Regions from separate parts of the Homo sapiens genome. Here all the other regions are linked to region 1. The links are contacts of gene promoters, found by promoter capture Hi-C in blood cells and fetal thymus (Javierre and others, 2016). All regions are on one chromosome and are shown on one strand. Each heading gives the region's core, a stretch centred on a gene start or on the middle of the fragment in contact. The rest is flanking DNA. Distances are from core to core; before and after follow the strand shown.

What was found. The method cuts DNA at HindIII sites, captures the fragments that hold promoters and counts their contacts. A CHiCAGO score of 5 or more calls a contact.
Region 2: a fragment that was not itself captured here is called in contact with the fragment with the promoter of IQGAP1 in region 1 in 1 of 17 cell types (neutrophils); the score reaches 5.6 in neutrophils.
Region 3: a contact is called between a fragment that was not itself captured here and the fragment with the promoter of IQGAP1 in region 1, in 1 of 17 cell types (total B cells). The highest score is 5.2, in total B cells.
Region 4: the fragment with the promoter of RCCD1 here is called in contact with the fragment with the promoter of IQGAP1 in region 1 in 1 of 17 cell types (activated CD4 T cells); the score reaches 6.1 in activated CD4 T cells.

What each region holds. Positions count from the first base shown.
Region 1 is chr15:90,386,291-90,389,963 of GRCh38, reverse strand. IQGAP1 (IQ motif containing GTPase activating protein 1) reads right to left here and starts at 1,722. Exons shown (of 38, transcript NM_003870.4): 1 at 1,568-1,722. The coding sequence starts at 1,622. RefSeq lists a silencer at 1,219-1,998. The HindIII fragment of the contact is 8,546 bases long and covers 1-3,673 here.
Region 2 is chr15:89,757,065-89,760,737 of GRCh38, reverse strand. No RefSeq gene overlaps it. Among named protein-coding and RNA genes, the nearest start is that of MESP1, 7.7 kb to the right of the region's middle. The HindIII fragment of the contact is 6,729 bases long and covers 1-3,673 here.
Region 3 is chr15:90,983,136-90,986,808 of GRCh38, reverse strand. It overlaps PRC1 (protein regulator of cytokinesis 1), which reads left to right. Exons shown (of 15, transcript NM_003981.4): 2 at 1,984-2,116; 3 at 2,669-2,791. It overlaps PRC1-AS1 (PRC1 antisense RNA 1), which reads right to left. Exons shown (of 4, transcript NR_051984.1): 3 at 3,031-3,117. Among named protein-coding and RNA genes, the nearest start is that of PRC1, 9.6 kb to the left of the region's middle. RefSeq lists an enhancer at 2,248-3,447. The HindIII fragment of the contact is 4,694 bases long and covers 1-3,673 here.
Region 4 is chr15:90,953,234-90,956,906 of GRCh38, reverse strand. RCCD1 (RCC1 domain containing 1) reads right to left here and starts at 2,023. Exons shown (of 8, transcript NM_001017919.2): 1 at 1,959-2,023; 2 at 7-295. The coding sequence starts at 172. It overlaps UNC45A (unc-45 myosin chaperone A), which reads right to left. Exons shown (of 20, transcript NM_018671.5): 19 at 3,597-3,673; 20 at 2,814-3,448. The coding sequence ends at 3,191. It overlaps RCCD1-AS1 (RCCD1 and UNC45A antisense RNA 1), which reads left to right and starts at 2,414. Exons shown (of 2, transcript NR_170325.1): 1 at 2,414-2,572. RefSeq lists silencers at 67-296, 1,527-1,656 and enhancers at 1,877-1,986, 1,787-2,341, 3,166-3,666. The HindIII fragment of the contact is 3,970 bases long and covers 1-2,556 here.

The DNA of each region.
Region 1 (3,673 bases), core at 473-2,972:
TTTTTTTTTGAGACAGGGTCTTGTTCTGTCACTCCGGCTCGAGTGCAGTGGCACAATCATGGCTTACTGCAGCCTCGACTTTCTGGGCTCAAATGATCCTCCTACCTCAGCCCCAAGCAGCTGGGACCACAGGCATGGGCCACCACGCCTGGCTAATTTTTTTTTTTTTTTTTAAGAGATGGAGTCTCACTGTGCTGCCCAGGCTGGTCTCAAACTCAAGGCCTCAAACTATCCTCTCACCTCGGACTCCCAAAGTGCTGGGATTACACGCAGGAGTCACTATGCCTGGCCACCTGTCAAACTTTCTACACAGCATTCTTCAAGGCTCTGTTCAAATGTCACCTTCAGGCCAGGTGCAGTGGCTCACACTTTGGGAGGTCGAGGCGTGGGGATCATTTGAGATCAGGAGTTTGAGACCAGCCTGACCAACACAGTGAAACCCTGTCTCTACTAAAAATACAAAAATTAGCCAGTGTGGTGGCCGACGCCTGTACTCGGGAGACTGCAGGAGAATCGCTTGAACCTGGGAGGTGGAGTTTGCAGTGAGCTGAGATTGCACCACTGAACTCCAGGCTGGGCGACCAGAGCAAGACCCCCTGTCTCCAAAAAAAAAAAAAAAAAAGTCACCTCCCGTGCTCATACTGTCTTCCCCAGGCCCCTTCTCCTTACCTACATTACTCTGTATGGCTAGTAAGTTCAGCATCTTTTATCATTATTGCACCTTATAATCATTAGCTTGCACACCTGACTCTCTGATTAAAACGCTCTTTGGAGACAGGGCCTGATCTTACTCATCTTTAATTTCACAAACGTGGCACAATACCTCACGTATAACTGTTGATGCGTGAAATGTTGATCCTTTAAAAAAGAACATTATTCCCACAATATAAAATAAAACCGAAAACCTCAAAATCCCAAAGGGTCCTCCTTTAGCCAATCCTGCCTGCAGTTCAATGACGTCCAGGGCCGACAACAGAAAATGAGGAAGTCAGAGGATTTTCTGCTTCTTTTTTTTTTCTTTATTACTATTTTACTTTTGAAATCTTGAGGAGGGAACTAAGCCCGAGAAAACTGAAGTGACTTGCCCAGGACGGCACCTCGTAGCTAGCCTGGGACCGGACAGGTCTGGACCCTGGTCTATCCCTTGGGTCTACCCCGCAGGCAACACTAGGGCAGCGCCTTTCCACGAAACGGGCAGAGCCCGCGTACCCAGACCCCCAATCCCCGGGACACGCCCTGCGCGGTCATCCTGCCACCTCACTCTAGGCCGTCTTCCCCAATCTCGGCCGAGCCTGGGCGGCGAGAGGCGCTGGGTGGGGCTCCCCCTACCGCGGCCCCAGCTAAGGCGGGAGGCCTCGGGGGTCCTCTCCGCCGCCTCGGACCCCGAGGGGGCGCGAACCAGGGGCCTCCCCGCCCGCCGCCCGCCGCCCCACCGGGACGGCTCTTCCGGGTCCGAGCTGCCGGCAGCCGCCCTGCCCCACCCGCCCGGCCGAGCCCCCAGGAAAATCGCGCCTCGTCTGCAATTAGCCCAGCCCGAAGCCCCCGCGCCGCGGAGCCCCGCACTCACAGCCATAGTGCGGCCGGGCCACGCCCAGCCCGTCAACCTCGTCTGCGGCGGACATGGCGGACGAGCCCGAGTCTCTGCTGAGGAAGCCGTGAAACCTTGGAGGCGCGGACGGCGGTAGCTACAGCTCCTGCCAAGTGCGCGGGCTTGCCGGGGTCCCCGAGGCCCCGCCCCGTGCCGTCAGCCCCACCCCGCAGGCCCCGCCCCAGCGGCACCGCCCCAGCGACACCGCCCTGAGCGGCCGGAAAGAGGCGGGGCCAGAGTCACCGTGCCCCGCCCCTAACTCCGCCCCCTCAGCCCGGCCCCGCCCTGCATCCCGCTATGGTCTCCGTAGGCGGAAGGAAGAAGGTAGAGCCCATCCTCCAATCGGGCTCACGCTGAGCTTGCCCTGCCGGGAATGCCCGCCCAGGTTTATAGCCCCGCCCCCAAGGCCACTGCCCTATCCGCAACTCTAACCGAAAGGCTGCCGGTGTCTGCTGCCTGAAATCAAAATAGTGGGTCATCTCCCTTCTCTTGCCGGCCCAGCTAACCTCTGCACCAATATTTGGAGAAGACACCCTTTGAGGTGACCCAGGTTGTCTTGTTGGACACAAGCAGGCCCCAAACTGCCATGAAAGCCCTCCAACCCCACTCTCCGCAGTTTGGCAACCTGGCCTCAGTCCTCTTAGATTCGGCAGCAGTCACCAGATTACCCAGGTACCCAGGTATTTGAGATGCGGATGCTAAAGCCGAACTCTGTCCAAATTCCCTACCTTTGGATCCCTTGACATTGTTCTTTGCAAGTTCTTTTTAAAATAACTCTTTTCCCGTATCAGGGATGCCTCTGCCCCCTGCACCTTGTGGCTTGCCCTTCAGATATTGGTATTCAACGGTATTCTGTCCGCAGCCCTCTTCTGTTTATTCTTTTTTCTTTTCTTTCTTTCTTTTTTTTTATTTTCTTTTTTTTTTGAGACGGAGTCTCGCTCTGTCGCCCAGGCTGGAGTGCAGTGGCGCGATCCGGGCTCACTGCAAGCTCCGCCTCCCGGGTTCGCGCCATTCTCCTGCCTCAGCCTCCCGAGTAGCTGAGTCTACAGGCACCCGCCACCGCGCCCGGCTAAGTTTTTGTATTTTTAGTAGAGACGGGGTTTCACCGTGTTAGCCAGGATGGTCTCGATCTCCTGACCTCGTGATCCACCCGCCTCGGCCTCCCACAGTGCTGGGATTACAGGCGTGAGCCACCGCGCCCGGCATTTTTTTTTTTTTTTTTTTTTTGAGACGGAGTTTTGCTCAGTCGTTCAGGCTGGAGTGCAGTGGCGCGATCTCGGCTCACTGCAACCTCCGCCTCCCGGGTTCAAGCGACTCTCCCGCCTCAGCCTCCCAAGTAGCTGGGATTATAGGTGCCCGCCACCACGCCCAACTACTTTTTTTGTATTTTTAGTAGAGGCAGGGTTTCACCATGTTGATCAGGCTGGTCTCGAACTCCTGACCTCAGGTAATCCACCCGCTTCTGCTTCCCAAAGTGCTGAGATTACAGGTGTGAGCCACCGCGCCCGGCCCTCTTCCGTTTATTCTTTGCCTACTCAGTAATCTTTTCTACACTCGCCTATAACTGCTGAGGACCCCTCGATATGTATCACCAGACCAGATCGTCTGGAAGTCCCTCAGTATTTTCAGCTAATGAACACTTTCACCTGTGTATAGGGCAGACACTTCAAATCCCACGTGTCAAATACTGACCCTGCTCCTGCTATATTCTCTATTCACAGAAGTACTCAATTCCCAGTGGGAACACCCCAGGCTCCTTGCCTCGCACCCTACATCCAATCTGTGTTTATTTCTGAGATGTCTACTTTTGTCTCCATCCCTGTTGTGATTACACTGTAGTCGCCCTTCTGCCAACTAGATCCTCACAGTTATCAGGGTGTTCTCTCTAAAGTGCAAATGCAATTGTGTTTCTCTTTTTAAATTTTTTTTTCTATTCCTCCCTTCAAGATAATGGGCCAAGTTCAGCATGATTTAGCATGCCAAATCATAGCCTGACTCCAGATGTTTTGCTCCAGCTATTTTCAATGTATTCACTCTTCCTTCAGACTATTAAAGATACTTGAAAACCTGTAAGAACAAAACACC
Region 2 (3,673 bases), core at 660-3,159, 630 kb after region 1:
CACTTTTCACTCTAAGGCTGAGACCCATTGGCACTTCCCTGGAGAAAGTGAAGGAGCATAAATGCTACGTCCCTTAGGAGAGACGTGCTATCTGCTTACCCTGCATTGTCAGCCAGCTCCAGACCCACCAAGACGCGGCACTTCCTCTTGAGCCTTTCCTGGAATCTGCCAAGTCTCTCTCTCCCACCCCCTCCCTCCTCGTCACCCCTGGGCTGCCTGCGACTTCCACTGGCTGAGCACCCAGCTGATCTGTAGCCAGATAATCAGATTATTGTGGGTCTAGAATAATCTATTCCATATGGCTTGCCAGCTCAGTGGCTCCGAGAGCTGAAGGTGTGAGGGGAGGGAGTGATCGTCCTTGGAAGGGGCTGCCCTGGGAGCTGCGGAGCCTCAGCGGGAGGCTGATAGGAAAGGAAGCACAGGTGGGGGAAGGTGAGCCCGCCTTGCTGGGCCCTCTGACTTCTCTGGGCTTCAGCCCAAGCATGGCCTCCAGGCCTCACGATCTGAGACCCACAGGGGCTGGGTGCTCCCCAGGGCCTTTCCCACCTTTTGATTGGGGTGGGGTGTTCACCGTGGGGCACCGCTGCATAATTTCAGGGAGATTTTATTTTTTATCCTCAGGCTGCATCCTCCAGGGATCTGGTCCATGAAGTCCAGATGGGGCCTGCAAGCTCTTCTTCTTCTTTCTTCTTCTCTCTTCTTTCTTCTTTCTTCTCTCTTCTCTCTTCTTCTTCTTCTTTTCTTCTTCTTCCTCTTCCTTCTTCCATCTTTCTTCTTCTTCTTTATTCTTCTTCTTCCTTTTCTTTGTTTGTTTGTTTTTTTTGAGACAGTTTCACTCTTGTTGCCCAGGTTGGAGTGCAGGGGTGTGATCTCGGCTCACTGCAGCCTCCACCTCCCAGGTTCAAGCAATTCTCCTGCCTCAGCCTCCCGAGTAGCTGGGATTACAGGCACCCACCACCGTGCCTGGCTAATTTTTTGTATTTTTATAGAGATGGGGTTTCTCCATGTTGACCAGGCTGGTCTCGAACTCCTGGCCTCAGGTGATCCACCCACCTCAGCCTCACAAAGTGTGGGGATTACAGGCGTGAGCTACTGTGCCCGGCCTCTTTTTCTTCTCAGTCTCTGTGATGTGAAGCAAGGCTTAATGTGACCGGAGGGGTCCCCAACCCCTTCACTCTTAGGACCTCCCTCCAGGATGGAAGGAGCCACTCATCCTCCGAAGGAGACATGGGAGATATAGGGAGGACAGAACAGAGGCTTTGGCCTCTGACAGAGACAGATGGATGCCAGCTCAGCCCCTGCTCACCCTGTTAGGTGGGACAATCTCTCTGAGCCTCTGTTTCCTCATCTACAAAGTGGGGGCCACTACACCCACATCAAAGTGTGTTGTGAGTGTGAGCAGCGACCCTGCAAAGCTCCAGCCCAGTGCCAGACCTCGGGGGACAGTAGTGTGCACGCACGCTCCATGCAGCCTGAGTTGATCCGCACATGCTCAGCCCAGAAGGCAGGAATTACCCTGTGGCACAGCAACAGACAAGACACTGAGGCCAGAGATGGAGAGCGAGGTGCCCAAGTGGCACAGGTAGTGCATGGCAAGGCAGGGCCTCATGCCCACATTGGCCAGACTCCAGAGGAGTGTCCTGGGCTGTCTGAAGGCGGAGGCTTCACTACTAACAATCTCTCCCCTGAGAGGGTTGCTGCAGAGGTGTGGCGGGAAGATCCTTGGCTGTGGGGGACACCCAAATTAGGAGCTTCCCAGGAGATGCTAAGTAGGCTGGCAGTAGGAGAGCCGCTTCCTTCTCCTGGGGCCTCTGGCTCCGGCAGGGACAGGATTAGGGTCTGCAAGGGGACGATTTACATAGCACCTCTGATTAGTACTCCTATGTCAGAGGGACTGGCTGGGAAATGAGGGCCTTGGGGCTGGGAGGGGGGCCGGGCAGTGCCCAGGACCCAGGTTTGGCGTGAGAAGCGGGCTGGGTAGAGTGGGGAGGCTGAGGTCCAGGCCTGAGCCTGAGAGGGTGCTGCCCTGTCCAGCCTGCCCCCCATGCTGGCCTCAGCTTGCTCTGTCACCTCTGCTCCTGTGGGGCTGCCCCAAGGCCTCATTTCCCAGCCTTACACGTTTGGCAGAGGGTAGGCTCGGGCCAGGGGAGCAGAGGCCACTAGCTCCGGCACTTGTCAAAACACAGGCCCCAGAGGTGTGAAGGCCTCACCCCAGTGGGAGAGCGTGTGGGCCCTGCCGCCCGGAGAACTCATTAACTCAGGCAGCCCCCACATGAACCCACCGGAGAGGCTGGCCACAATAAGGAGATCAAAGGGGAGACAGGCAGGGGACAGGGAAGAGGAGGCTGGCTGGTGGGAGGCGGCAGGGACTGGGCTTCAGGTTGGGGTGCCTCCCATCCCTTAACTTGGTTCCATCAGGCCCACTGACCATTGCCCTTGCACCAGCTGGGCCCCTGGGGCGACTTCCCAGAGACCCCAGGGGAGGGAGGGACTCCATGTGTTCCCTTCAATTTGTCAGCCTTGAGGGCTGAAGACCCCAAAGACGGGACTGGGGATAGAACCTTCCCATCTGCCCCACCTCTCTCTTGCCATATTTGTGGGTTGTCTCCACAACTCACCCCTGTGCCTTTCTAACCCTACCTCAGTGGTGACACGAGGGATCTTCCTGTCACAGGCCATTCCTGATGTCCCTCTCCTGCTCCATATCTCTTGGTGGCTCCCACGTGCTCACTTAACATTAGCTATTAGGTTTCAGATCTGAGAACTTCTAGGGGCTGTGGTTTCAACATAAAGTGTGCTTCCCACACATATGGTCTCTTGTCCAAATATGTGTAGTTGATTTTGTACTTAATAAAATACAGGCTGGGCATGGTGTCTCATACCTATAATCCCAGCACTTTGAAAGGCTGAGGTGGGAGGATCACTTGAAGCTAGGAGTTTGAAACCAGCCTGGGTAACAAAGTGAGACTCAGATTCTACAAAAAAAAATATATATATATTTTTTTTTATTTATATATATATTTTTTGAGACAGAGTCTCGCTCTGTCACCCAGGCTGGAGTGTGGTGGCACCATCTCGGCTCACTGCAACCTCCGCCTCCTGGGTTCAAGCAATTCTCCTGCCTCAGCCTCCCAAGTAGCTGGGACTACAGGCACCCGCCACCATGCCTGGCTAATTTTTTTGTATTTTTAGTAGAGACGGGGTTTCACTGTGTTATCCAGGATGCTCTCAATCTCCTGACCTCCTGATCCACCCACCTTGGCCTCCCAAAGTGCTGGGATTACAGGTGTGAGCCACTGCGCCCGGTCCAAAATAATATTTTTTAATTAGCTGGGTGTGGTGATGCACGGTGCCTGTGGTTCCAGCTACTGAGGAGTATGAAGTGGGAGGATTGCCTGAGCCCAGGGGATCGAGGCAGCAGTGAGCCAAGATTGCGCTACTGCACTCCAGCCTGCGTGACAGAGCAAGACCCTGAAAAAGAAAAAGAAAATAAACAAACAAACAAAAAAACCCAAAACCAAATTCATTTCAAAGCATTGTTGACAACCCAGTAATGGCGGTTTCTTCTGGCACAGGCAATTGGGAGCCCCAGAGCAGGATGGTAAACAGGTTTGCTCTACCTTCTGCACGTGTTGACTTTGTAACTATGTGTAAAGCAAATGCTCTACTTGCA
Region 3 (3,673 bases), core at 428-2,927, 600 kb before region 1:
CAGTAAAACAGACTCGCTTTACAGGTAGTTTCAATTGTATACTGTTGTATAATCGCCATCAAGATCTAGAACTATTTCATCACCCCAAAAAAGTAAAATAAATAAATAAATAAAATAGAAATATAATAATTTGAGCTTTATCCATATCATGTGTAGTGTGTTCATTTTCTTTTTTGACAGTTTCGCTCTGTCGCCCAAGCTGGAGTACAGTGGTACAATCTTGGCTCACTGCAACCTTGGCTCACTGCAAACCCTGCCTCCCGGGTTCAAGCGATTCTCCTGCCTCAGCCGCCCCAGTAGCTGGGATTACAGGCGCACCACCACACCCAGCTAATTTTTTGTGTTTTTAGTAGAGACAGGGTTTCCCCATGTTGGCCAGGCTGGTCTCCTGACCTCAAGTGATCTGCTCCCCTCGGCCTCCCAGAGTCCTGGAATTACAGGTGTGAGCCACTGCACCCAGCCAGTTTGTTCATTTTCATTGCTGCATTAGTGCATTGTAGGAATGTACTATTCATTCTGTTGATAGACATCTAGGCTGTTTCTGTTTCCCTGCTATTATGAGTAGTGCTTCTCTAACCATTCTCATATATGTCTTTGGTGAACGTATGTGTTCATTTCTGCTAGGTATGTATGTAGAGGTAGAACTGCTGGGTTCAGCTTTAGTAGATAGACTGCCAACAGTTTTTAAAATAGTTGTACCAATTTACACCATGCCAGCAGCATATGAAAGTTCTCACTTTTCTATATACTCACCAACACTTAATGCTGTCTTTTTAACTTTAGCCATTCTTTGAGCTGCTAGTTGTAATTTAAGAAGAATAGGCCAGGCATGGTAGCTCACGCCTGTAATCCCAGCAATTTGGGAGGCCGAGGCAGGTGGATCACTTGAGGTCAGGAGTTCGAGACCAGCGTGGCCAACGTAGTGAAACCCCATCTCAATGGCTTTTTAACTTTAGCCATTCTTTGAGCTGCCGGTTGCAATTTAAGAATACTAGGCCCGGGCGCAGTGGCTCATGCCTGTAATCCCAGCACTTTGGGAGGCCGAGGTGGGTGGATTTTTGTGTTTTTGTAAAAATACAAAAATTAGCTGGGTGTGGTGGCACACACCTGTAATCTGAGCTACTTGGGAGGCTGAAGCAGGAGAATCACTTGAACCTGGGAGGCGGAGGTTGCAGTGAGCTGAGATCTCACCACTGCACTCCAGCCAGGGCAACGGAGCGAGACTCTGTCTCAAAAAAAAAAAAGAAAATAAAAATAAATAAATTAATTAAATAAAATGGCAAGGCACAGTGGCTCACATATGTAATCCTAGCACTTTGGGAGGCCGAGGAGGGCGGATCACTTGAGGCCGGGAATTCAAGACCCACCTGGCTAACATGGCGAAACCCCAACTCTACTAAAAATACAAAAATTAGCTGGGTGTGGTAGCACCTGCCTATAGTCCCACCTACTCGGGAGGCTGAGTCAGGAGAATCATTTGAACGCAAAAGGTAGAGGTTGCAGTGAGCCAAAATTGCACCACTGCACTCCAGCCTGGGCGACAGAGCAAGATGCTGTCTCAAAAAAAAAGAAAAAACAAAAAAAAAACACCAAAAAAATAGTAATAAATTGCCAAACATTTTGCAGGAGTTTCTCACCAGCAAGTTCTTGTGTTAGTTTATTTTACCAACATCTTTTGTCCGGTTTTTCTTTAGTAAAAGTATTTATAATTCTGTATTATACTTCCATAGGTAGATCATTGTTGAAAGTCCAGAAGGTTGAGCTTCCATGATGTAATATGATATGAAATCTTGTATTGCTAGTGGCATTTGGTAGGAAAAGGGATGGGGAGTGGTTAAAGGTGAATTAAGCTGAATGCTTGTTTTCAATTTGTTTTTTTCTCGAGGCCACTGAGAAGCTAGTCTTTTTAGTTCTCGAAAATAGTGCTTTTAGTCCAGAGGCTGTGACTGATGTAACTAACAGGCCTTAGTTTTTGGTTTTCAGTGAGGTGCTGGCGGAGGAGTCCATAGTATGTCTGCAGAAAGCCCTAAATCACCTTCGGGAAATATGGGAGCTAATTGGGATTCCAGAGGACCAGCGGTTACAAAGAACTGAGGTGGTAAAGAAGCATATCAAGGTGGGTTGAATAGTACTGGTCTCTGCATTGGACCAGGGTAAGGATGTTGGTGTCTCACCCGAGATAGCATACAGAAGGGACATGTGATCATCGGCATTAGGATAGCACAGGCTCTTCCTGTTTGGTTTGGTTTGGTTTTGAAGTCCCTTCTTGAAATTTGAGGAGGCTGGGTGCGGTGGCTCATGCCTGTAATCCCAGCACTTTGGGAGGCCGAGGCGCATGGATTGCTTGAGGTCAGGAGTTCAAGACCAGCCTGATCAACATGGTGAACCTCCGTCTCTACTAAAAATAAAAAAATTAGCCGGGCATGGTGGTGAGCACCTGTAATCCCAGCTACTCAAGAGGCTGAGACAGGAGAATCTATTGAACCCGGAAGGTAGAGGTTGCAGTGAGCCGAAAGCACGCCATTGCACTCCAGCCTGGGCAACAGAGCGAGACTCCATCTCAAAGAAAAAAAGAAAAAGAAAAAAGAAATTTGAGGAGTTTGGTATTGGTGTTGGGAGTTTTTTTCCTCCATTGCCCCAAACTTATGGACTGTTTTCCCTCTTGTAGGAACTCCTGGATATGATGATTGCTGAAGAGGAAAGCCTGAAGGAAAGACTCATCAAAAGCATATCCGTCTGTCAGAAAGAGCTGAACACTCTGTGCAGCGAGTTACATGTTGAGCCATTTCAGGTCCGTGGCAGCCCACAGGGTCTCTGGTGATCTGTCTGGGGCCTGAGACTTAGAAAGCAACGTTGACTTGGGCCTGCAGATGGAAGGCTTCCTCGTAGGGATGGAGCTAGACGTAAGAAGTGGGGAAAACATGCTGTGTAGTTAATTAGGCCCAGCAGAGTAATTCTCACCTCTGTAGAGAGTTGCCCTGGTAAGAGGTGAAGCAACTAATAGATGATCAAAAAGAAGCTGCTGCTTACCATAGTTTTGCTTTGTAGGGAATATGAATTTTTTTTTATAAACGCTGAGAAAAAGGTAGGCATAGATGGTGCTGCAGTGTTCTTTCTCTGAAAGAAAATGAAAACAGGAACAAAAGTAACTAATGATTAAAAGGAATACTATGAAAACACCAACCTTTGTGGGTTTTATCATACCCAGAAGCTGCATACCACTGAACCAGCCAAAATGGCTTCTTCAGAAGAAATGTCTCAAAAGCTGGAATACTGGGAGTGCATAGTCCATTTCAGAGCATGCCATGACATCCATCTGGGTATGGAGCTGAGAAGTGGCTATATTGTGGTCCACTGCAAGTCAGGGACTTGAGTGAGGACACAGCAAGGATGAAATGAATAACAGATGGGGTCCTGAAAATCTCTGCTTAGAACCAGTAAAAATAGTGCCAGGATCATAAAAATTAGGACAGATGTGGAGCTTGGAAAGACAATGAGTACACCCATAAGGTTCTCAGGTCCCTCTTCCTGTTACAGGAAGACCTGCCTGGATATCTATTTGGAGTTAGCTTAGGAGGGAGATCACCTTTAAAGGGCAAAGGATAATTCATACTTGGTAGCCAAGAGCAATCAGGCAGAAGAGAACATGAAGTGGAGCTTCCTGGAGTCAACA
Region 4 (3,673 bases), core at 774-3,273, 570 kb before region 1:
GCTCACGGGTCACGAAAGCGGTGTAGCTCCAGCTCGCGCTCACGCGGCAGATGTCGACGCCCGCCCGCAGCGGACTGGGGCTGTGCACCTGGCGCCCGCGTCCGGAGCCCAGCTCCTGCCCGAAGCCGCAGAAACCGAAGCCGAACCAGGCCCCCGGCCGCTCCTCCGCCATGCCCGAGCAGCGCCCTCTGCCGGCCGCCGCCTGGCTGCGGCGGGCCCGGGGGGATTCTTGCGAAGAGCCCGCTAGTGGGACACTGGCAAGTCTCTGGCCTTCCAGGGGCTGGAGCTGCCTTATCTGTAAAATGGAGAAACTATCATTCTCCCGACCACAAAGGCAGAGTCCGTGCCACGAAGGTTCGCTGAGCAGGCGCCCTGACTAATGCCCTACCGGATTTACAAAGATGCTCAAATATTTAGAGGCACTTTCCCTGTCCTCCCTTTTGGCTCAAGCTCAGCGTGCCACAAAGTGGGTACGAAGTGGCCTGTCCTTTAGGCATTGGACTAGGATCCGAGCGCCCCCGACACCCCCACCCCGTCCCGCAGCTTCCCAGCATCTGGCACTTTATCCCATGTAATCTTGGGAACCAAAATGGTCGTTTTACAGAGGAGATTCTGAGACAAAGTAACCCTTACACACTCATACAGCCAGACAGAGAGGGGCAGAGCGCTGAAATCAGGTCCCACCAACTCCACACACAGTGCTCTGCCCCTCTCCCCACAGCGGAACGCAGAAGAGCGTTTGGGAGGCAGTGCCTCTGCAACTCAGCGGGGCCTTGGGACCGCAGCCAATCCACCTGAGTCCAACTGCGTTTCTTCAGTTTACAAAGGGAGGTGGGGGCGGTGCTGTTTGAACCTTCCTCACAGAATTGTAATAAATGCAAATAAAGGGTTTGGTGCGAGTACATGCCATGATAAACACACAGTATTAGCTTACTGAATCCAGTATTTAGTGTTGACAAAAAAATTATCCCTGGACATCTTACTGGTTTTGAGAAACTTATACAGACAGAATTTCAACTGTACCTTATCTAGCCATTTATTCGTCCAGCGAGCATTTACTGAGCGCTCCTCCTCTGCCAGTGAGGACAGCTGTCTGCTCCCAAGGAGCTAACCGTTAAATGGGGAGACAAACAGTCTGGTGGTTACAACAGCAACGCCAACTTCAAGCAGATTCGGCTGGAGCGGGTTTGTTTTTTTTTTTTTTTAATATAATAGAGACAGGGGTCTCGCTATGCTGCCCAGGCTGGTCTCAAATTCCTGGGCTCGAGTGATCCGCCCGCCTCGGCCTCCCAAAGCGTTGGGATTACAGGCGTGAGCCGCTGCACCCGGGCTGAAGCAGAATTGCATGGGCATTTTCAGGCCTCTTAAGTCAGATCCTGGGTCTCTCCTGAGACCCCAGTTCCTGGGCTCCTAACCCCTTCCGTGTCCTCTCCCAACCCAAGGGGGCCTCTGACCTTGATCTTGACCCTATGCCCTCTACCCTCTCGGGCAGGTCCTTCTGGTGGGCAGCCTTGGAGGAAACGCCGAGGCGCAGAGCGGCCGCCTCCGGAAAGGCCTCCCGCCCAGCGGGCGCCGACAGCCACGGGGAGAAAAGGTTTGAAGGGCGCGCGGCGCGAGGCGGCCAATCACCAGCAAGGGCGGTGACGTCGCCGCCCGGGGCGCGGCGGCCGCAGCCCTGTTCAACTCCCCTTGAGGGCCTCTCCGGTCCCGAGGCCTACGCCGGGGCCCTGCGGCCCGGTCTGTGAAATGGGCTGAAACCTCCGAGGGGCGTTGGACCAAGGCCCTGGAGGAAACCGGGGGCGTTGGACCAAGGCAGAGGTTGGGCCAGGTGGTCCCGCCCCTGCAGGAACCCGTGGGGCTGGAGCTCGGATTAGAACCACAGAGAGGACATTCATTAAGACTTGAGCTAAAGGTTTGGCGAGGAGTGACGCCCAAGACGGGCGGACCCCGCCACCCACCTCAGTCCCGGGACCGCGGCAGCTCAAAACCCGACACGCGCCGGACTCATGCCCCAACAGGAAGCAGCTTTTACCTTCCACGGATTGGCTCAGGACCCGTCACGTGCCTCTGTCGAGCCAACGAGCCTCACGCTGGGCTTAGCCCTCCTCGAACGTGCTGGGGTGGTGGGCGGGGCCCAAGCCGCCCTTCAACCAGGCTCAGCTGGCCACCAACCCCAACCCCCGCCCCAGCGCCCTCAGCGGAGGCCACAGAGGACTCCCAATATAAAGACAAACGTACTGAAGGCCCAGCATATGGGAGTCTCTACCCTAAACGACTTATTTCTTGGGATAGTTTAATATTTTTTGAGATAGGGTCTCGCTGTGTCGCCCAGGCGACACTTTGGGAGGCTGCGCTCTGGGCTCACTGCAACCTTCGCCTACCGAGTAGCTGGGATTACAGGTGCATGCCGCCACACTCTGCTCTTTTTTTTTTTTTTTTTTTTTTTTTGGTATTTTTATAGAGAAAGAGTTTTGCTTGTTGCCCAGGCTGGTCTCGAACCCCTGACTTCAAGTGATCCACCTGCCTCAGCCTCCCAAAGCGCTGGGATTACAAGCTTGAGGCACCGCACCTGGTGAGTTTCTTATTGATTAGCTTCCTAGGCTTACCCTTTGTCCCTCCAGTAGGATTAAGAAGCAACTCAGTGGGCCCTGGTTGGGGAATCCATTGGATTCCTTCCATGGAGGTGGGTCTGCCACTGTGAAGCTCCGTTGCACACTCACCCACGCCCAGCTCACACCCATACTCACCCACACTCACCCACTCAGAGACTCCCACTCACAGCAGCCCTCCCTGCCCAAGGACAGGGCACACAGTGGAGTTCTACACACTTTTATTGGAGGGGCAGGCCTGATAGCAGGCTCACAGCTGGTGAGGCTGCTGATGTGTGCGCCCTTCCAGATGCCCCAGGATCCACAGGCTGTGTTGGGATGCACCTTCCCCATTCCCAGCTGACTACAGTAGTACAGAAAAAGGGCCCCTCTGAGTGAGGCTGCAGGCAGTGCTGGCCAAGCAGGGCTGTGTGACTGAACGTGGCCGCTGACTCAGAACAGAGGACATCCTAGGGCAGCAAGCGAGGATGGGCAAGAGTATTGGGCATGCCAGCCACCACCAGCCAAAGCTGCTTCCGTCCTTACTCTCCGTGCCACAATAGGTAGCGTGTGCATGAGCCTTGGGCCCAGGGACAACCCCCTCACTCTCCATCTTGGTTGGGTTGGATAAGCCCATATTCCACTGCTTTGTCCAGGCAGGCTGCAGCAGCCCTTGTGACAGGGCTGTGGTCACCCTTAGCTAGCACTGACAAGATCTCCATCATCTCACTCTCCATCAGGGTGCTGGCAATCTCCCTCGAGGCCTCCACCATGTTCAGCACCACCACAGCACCCCGGTGCTGCAGCTCCTGGTTGGAGCTCAGAAGCAGGGCCTGCAGGATCTCCAGCCAGTGTGTGGTCTGTGAGAAAAACAGGGTAGATATGACCCCTGGGCAACAGGCTCAACCTTGGCAAGGGACACACCCACACACCCTAGGACTGCCCCCTTCAGCTGCTGCTGGGAGTTCCTGGTCCGTCCCTCCTCCCCCACTGAGAAGAGGCACTGACCACTTGGGGAATGCGGCTGCAGAGCGTGGGCCGCATGGAGGTAAGCATGGCCAAGCCCCCGGCAGCTGCCCGCTGTA